Linked DNA regions of Homo sapiens: region 2 is linked to region 1. The links are contacts of gene promoters, found by promoter capture Hi-C in blood cells and fetal thymus (Javierre and others, 2016). All regions are on one chromosome and are shown on one strand. The core of a region is centred on a gene start or on the middle of the fragment in contact, and the rest is flanking DNA. Distances in the headings are between cores, read along the strand shown.

Region 1 (2,974 bases), core at 61-2,560:
TGTGGATTGCTTGTTGCAATTTGACCCAATGTACATGACTTTTTTTTCTATTGGAAAATTAACTCTAGTGTTCATATATAATGTTTTACTGTGTACTTTTAATATGTGTTTTAAAACAAGATAGTGTATATTTCTTCTTCCCCCCAATTTAACAGATTTGTATTTTATAAACGTTTATACATATTTCCTTGGGGAAATGACCTGCAGATAAGAAATAGATTTCTGTTTATGAGAAAACAATTATTTAAGCTTATGTGTCGTTTTCAGAAGCATTCTAAAATTGCCTTTTTAATTTGTGAGGAACTTTCTCAAACATGACCTTTCTAGTGCTGAATGAAAAGTCATTACCTGAAAATGACTCCCCAAAAAGCTGGAGATTATTTAACTTGTTGTGAGCCCCAGCATCATAAAAGTGAGATCTTTGTCTTGGAAAATAAACAGACTAAATCTTTTTTAAAAAGCTTTTATTTTAGGTTTAGGGGTACATGTGTAGGTTTGTCATGTAGGTAAACTGCCTGTTGCAAGGGCTTGGTGTACGGATTATTTAGTTACCCAGGTAATAAGCATAGTACTTGATACCTAGTTTTTTTCTGCTCCTTTTCCTCCTCACACCCTCAACCCTCAAGTGGGCCCTGGTGTCTCTTGTTCCTCTCTATGTGACCATGAGTTCTCATCATTTAGCTTCTACTTATGAGTGAGAACACGCAGTATTTGGTTTTCTGATAAACAAACTAAATCACCGTACAAAACGTATTGAGATGTCCCTATGAGTCCCTCCCGCCTGTAGGGTTCTGTATCATAGGATCCATGCACTCAACTTCATACATAAAGCAAGGACTTAAGGAGAGCTTCTCCAATACCACCTTTTGCACCATCGCTTTCTATTCAGAGATGACAGAGGCAGTATTTTAACAAGATTAAAGGAAAGTTTTAATAGCTTCATTTAAAAAGTTCTTGTTTTTCCACAGTATCACAACTGTTTTCATTTTTCATCCACCTGTTTGTTCTTTGTCCGTTTGACTAGTCGTTTTTATCATTGTAATCACGACATCCTGTGACTGTGCTCATGAGGTCTGTTTATTTCCACTTTACGTAAACTTTTCAAAATGACAGTTATTTCGTACTCGCTGTCGCCCGAACGCAGACGGGAGGACACTTCAGGAGCAATCGACCCGAAGGAAAAGCACGATCCAGGCCCCGCCTGCCTCGGCTCCACCTTCCCCGCGCCCGTCCCCCAGGGTCTCGGCCGCGGGACCCCGCCTTCCAGGCCCCGCCCCGCTTTTTCCCTGGCCCCGCCCCGGCCCGTCGCCATGTTGTTCCCTCCGCGCTGGACGGGAGCAGCTGGAGCGGGAGCCTGGCTGCGCTACCGCGGCTGCCTCCTGCTGTGCAGGTCCCCGACCCTCTCTCTGTCCTCATTGCGCCCAGACGGGCCGGCCCAGAGCTCCCGGGTCGTCTTTCGTGTGGCCGCGAGGTGAGCGGGACTCGGGACTCCTTCGGGACCGGGCGGAGTGCGCGGGTGTCGGGGTCTGAGGGGGCGGCTCGGGCCTCGGGCAGCTGGGGCGGGGTGCGGTGCGCGCGGGGCTAGCGCGGGTCACAAGGCCGCCCCGGGAGAGAGGACGGCTGGTTGTCTCCCTGCCTCCTCTCTGACGCAGGAGGAAAGACGGTCCCCACACCCTTGGGGAGAGGGACTCACAGAAACACACACAAACACTGGAGAAAGGGAGATACAAAAGCCCGGACACCCGTGCACATACACACGGAGAAATACACCCGGTCACCTGGGAACACACGTACACGCCAGCCTTTCCCCCAACCACTCCGGGACACACATCCACAGACCCCAAACCAAATCCTACACCCGAATGATTAATGTAGGGAAAACAAAGGCGCTCCCATGACTTGATTTTGGCGACCTCTGAAGTTCCACCTAGCAGAACGTGTTTGCTCGATGTCTTACGACCACTCGGGTGAGGAATTCGGAAAGTAAAGCCAATCTTAGAGGCTGCAGGCGTTTTGGGGGCATTATCTGATTCAGACGCTGGCTAACGTTTCACAATCGCGTTCCCTTTTTTCTTCCAACTTGGTAAGTAAAAAGGCAAAATGAGAAATTTAAGTGCTGAACTTAATAAATAGTTGGTGGACGTATTGCTTTTTTTTTTTTTTGGTAAGGGATGACACATCTCGTGACTACAGTTCTTTTGAGGAATAACTTTTCTGCTAGTTTCCAAATCGGCACGTGACCACAATCTTTTCATAGGATTTTAGCGTCCTGATAAAAATCAATGGGCAGAATTTGATTGCTTCTTTAAAAATGTGTTTGTCCTTCGGTCTCTGGCACCATTGTAATGGAAAATCCCTACATTGCCTGTACTCTCAGAAGCTGTCCAGTGTAGCAAAACTAGAGATAAAGAAACCTGGAACGATTCAGTTAGGAACTTTTAAGAAGCCAGCCTTTAGTTTTTCCTTTAGAAGATTATGAAGTTATCATGATTGCTTCTCTAGAACTTTAGTAGTTATTTGGATTCCTAAATCTAAGACAATGCTGTGGCAGTCTGGTGCTTTTAGTATTTTTGTGTCTGCTGTGGTAAATTCCTCGTTTATACTACAAAGTTTCTCTTCTGGAGACTTTTGGGATCTGGGCATATTTTTTCGTTTATTATTTGGAATGTTAGAGTAGATAGGCAAACACTAAGTAGAACATCATTGGCTTTGACTCCAAGCCGGGTTTTAGAGATAAGGGAAATAATACCTTAGTGCTATCACTTCTTTTCCAACCTCTCTCATCTCTTTTTGTTTCTATCTCAACCATTTCTTCTGTCTGGACTACAGTACTCTGGAGGCCTAAAGAGAAGATCCTTGAGTTCTCGAAATTATTTTTTTTTAGCCTCCCCTCATTTCTGACCATTTATTGAGCACTCACTCTGCGGCGAATATTCCGTACGTGTAAATCCTGTACGTACATCATTTTATTTAA
Region 2 (2,726 bases), core at 165-2,664, 2.0 Mb after region 1:
CAGTACCTCAGAATGTGACCTCATATGGAGATTGGGTCTGTATAAAGGTAATTATGGTCATTAGGGTGACCACTAGTCCAATATAACTGGTGTCCTTAATTAAAAGGGAAATTTGGACACAGACAAGATGAGAATGGCTTACGAAAATTGGATTTAATGCTGACACAAGCCAAGGAATTACCAGAAGCAAGGTTTATTAGGTGTTCTCCAGAGAAACAAAACCAATTGTGTGTGTGTATGTGTATATATGTGTGTGTGTATGTATGTATGTGTGGGTGTGCCTGTGTGTGTGCTTGTGCGTGTGTGTGTGTGTGTGTGTTTAGAGAGAGATTTATTTTTAAAAATTGGCTCGTGAATGTAGGCTCGTGAAATTTGCAGTGCAGGCCAGCAGACTGGAGACCAGGGAAGAATTGATATTACAGCCTGTCTTACTCAGTTTTGTGCTGTAACAGAATACCTGACACTGGATAATTTATAATGAACAGAAATTTATGTGGCTCATGATTCTGGAGGCTGGGAAGTCCAAGGGCATGGTGCCAGCATCTGCTCAGCATCTAGTGAGGGCTCTCTCTTGCATCATCCCATAGCACAAGGCAGAAGGGCAAGAACATGTGCATGTGAGGGGTGGGAGTGGTTGGGGGTGAAGAAGGAGGGAGGGAGGGAAGGGAAAGAAGCCAAATTTATCCTTATATCAGGAACCCACTACCTCAGAAACTAACCAGCTCCCCCTAATAATGGCATTAATCCATTCATGAGGGGAGGGCCCTCATGATTTAATCACCTCCCAACACTTTTGCGTTGCAGATTAAGTTTCCAAAACGTGAACTTTGGGGACACATTCAGACTGGATTGTGAGCACAAACTGGTGCCATGGCACAGCTCCAGTCCAAAGGCAGTCTGGAGGTAGAATTTCCTCTTCCTCAGGGGACCTGTCTTTTTCAACTTAAGGCTTTCGACGGATTGGGTAGGGCCCACCCACATGAAGGGTAATAATCTTTATTCCAAGTCTACTGATTTAAATGTTAATCTTATCTAAAAAATACATTCACAGTGACATTTAAACTGGTATTTGACCAAACATCTGGGTACCATGACCTACCCAAGTTGGCACATAAAATTAACCATCCAAGTAGAAAGGCCTGGAACAGAGCGCTCATTGCCCTCAGAAGGAACCAACCCTGCAGAGAACTTGGACCTCAGATTTCTAACCTCCAGAACCATGAGACAACAAAAATTTTTAAGCCAACCAGTCTATGGTACTTTCTTACGAGCTAATACATTGGCCTAAAGACCTCCGGTAGGGAGTCAAGCCTAGAGGTAAGGAACCTCCACAGGATTCACTAACTTCCTACCAGTCCCCTTTAATGTAATGGCTGCACATCTCTGGCTCCCTGAGTTCAGCGCACATTAGCAAAGTGATGCATATGCAAAGCAAAGCGCATGGCACTGTGCCAAAAGACTGGCTTCTCATCCTGCTGTGCTTTATTTCACAATGCACATAGAGATGATTCTCGCTCCTTTCACGTAGGTGTAGTCTTCTCTCTAGCTTAGATGGAGCAGGATCAAGGACAGCAGTACAGAGGAGAAGAGCTAGTTCACAGCCAATTACTAGCATGAATGTGCACAAAGAGAGGGGAGGATGAAAGCACGTTTGCCTCCTTTCTCAGCATCACTGAGGACCATGATGTGGGTTTTATATCTTACATTCTTCTTGGAAAGATGGTGTAAAGAAATAAAGTTCAGATTTGTAAGGGAAATGTGTCTTTAGTGCCCCTCAACTTCTACATTTGTGCCTTTTGCCACCCATTCCCACCTACCCCAACCCCCACCACTACCCCACCATGGCCATACTGCTGAGAGCCCCTCTTTTGGCAAGAGAAGGCAGAATCTGAGGTGGCAAAAAACACCCTGCTGCAAACTGGTTTGCTCTGTGTTTCTCTTACCCATACTATGTGCATTTCAGGAGGCTCCTAAGGGAGAAATTACATACCTGGAAGGTACAGTTCAAGTCTTGGTCATCTTTGCATCATAGCACCCACCACTGTGCTTGGAGCAAAAGAAATGACAATACATTTTGAAATGAAAGTGCTAACTGGCAGAATCCCAGCCCTGTGAGACTAGATGAGGTTCATACTCAGGGAGGGTCCTCTTTTTAGATCAGGCAGGATTTGGGGGGTCCTTTGGATCTTTTAGATAGGGGTATGAGACCCTCCTCTCAAAGGAGAAATATTTAAAAGTGTTTTAAAAGTATAGACATCCCTACAAATGGGTGATGACGTTTGAGAAAAGGAAAGACCCCTAGTACTGTCTCAGAGCATGCTGGCAGTCATGGCACAGTTCTTAGTTCTTGAAATGCGGACCAACATCTTTGTCACCAAGGGAGCCTACTCGGGTCAGTTGGCTAGTACTCCCAGCACCCATTTTGAATGAGGCACTGTGTCCCTAAGAGATGCAGCTCTGACCAAGGCAGACACGGTCCCTACCACCATGGGGCTTAGATACTGGAGAGGATGCAGTCATAAAGTACATTCCTGGTGAGGTATTAATTCGACTGTGATAAGCACTGTGACCACAAAGCAGTTCTGGGCTGACCTGGTGAGCTTGTGGTCGGGGGAGCTTAGAGGAAGTGACGCTGGTGTCAGTCACCTGAAGTGGGGGTAGGGATTCACCAGTCACAGATGGAGGGAGAGTCCAGGAAAGGAAGGGCATCTGCACAGGCCAGAGGG

What was found. Contacts are between HindIII fragments. The CHiCAGO score rates a contact against its expected background, and 5 or more counts as called.
Region 2: a contact is called between a fragment that was not itself captured here and the fragment with the promoter of RAB9A in region 1, in 1 of 17 cell types (total CD8 T cells). The highest score is 6.6, in total CD8 T cells.

What each region holds. Positions count from the first base shown.
Region 1 is chrX:13,687,818-13,690,791 of GRCh38, forward strand. RAB9A (RAB9A, member RAS oncogene family) reads left to right here and starts at 1,311. Exons shown (of 3, transcript NM_004251.5): 1 at 1,311-1,471. RefSeq lists an enhancer at 1,011-1,060 and silencers at 1,211-1,450, 1,461-1,620. The HindIII fragment of the contact is 3,610 bases long and covers 460-2,974 here.
Region 2 is chrX:15,678,009-15,680,734 of GRCh38, forward strand. All of the region lies in intron 1 of CA5BP1-CA5B (CA5BP1-CA5B readthrough), which reads left to right. It also overlaps the pseudogene CA5BP1. Among named protein-coding and RNA genes, the nearest start is that of CA5BP1-CA5B, 3.9 kb to the left of the region's middle. The HindIII fragment of the contact is 3,386 bases long and covers 1-2,726 here.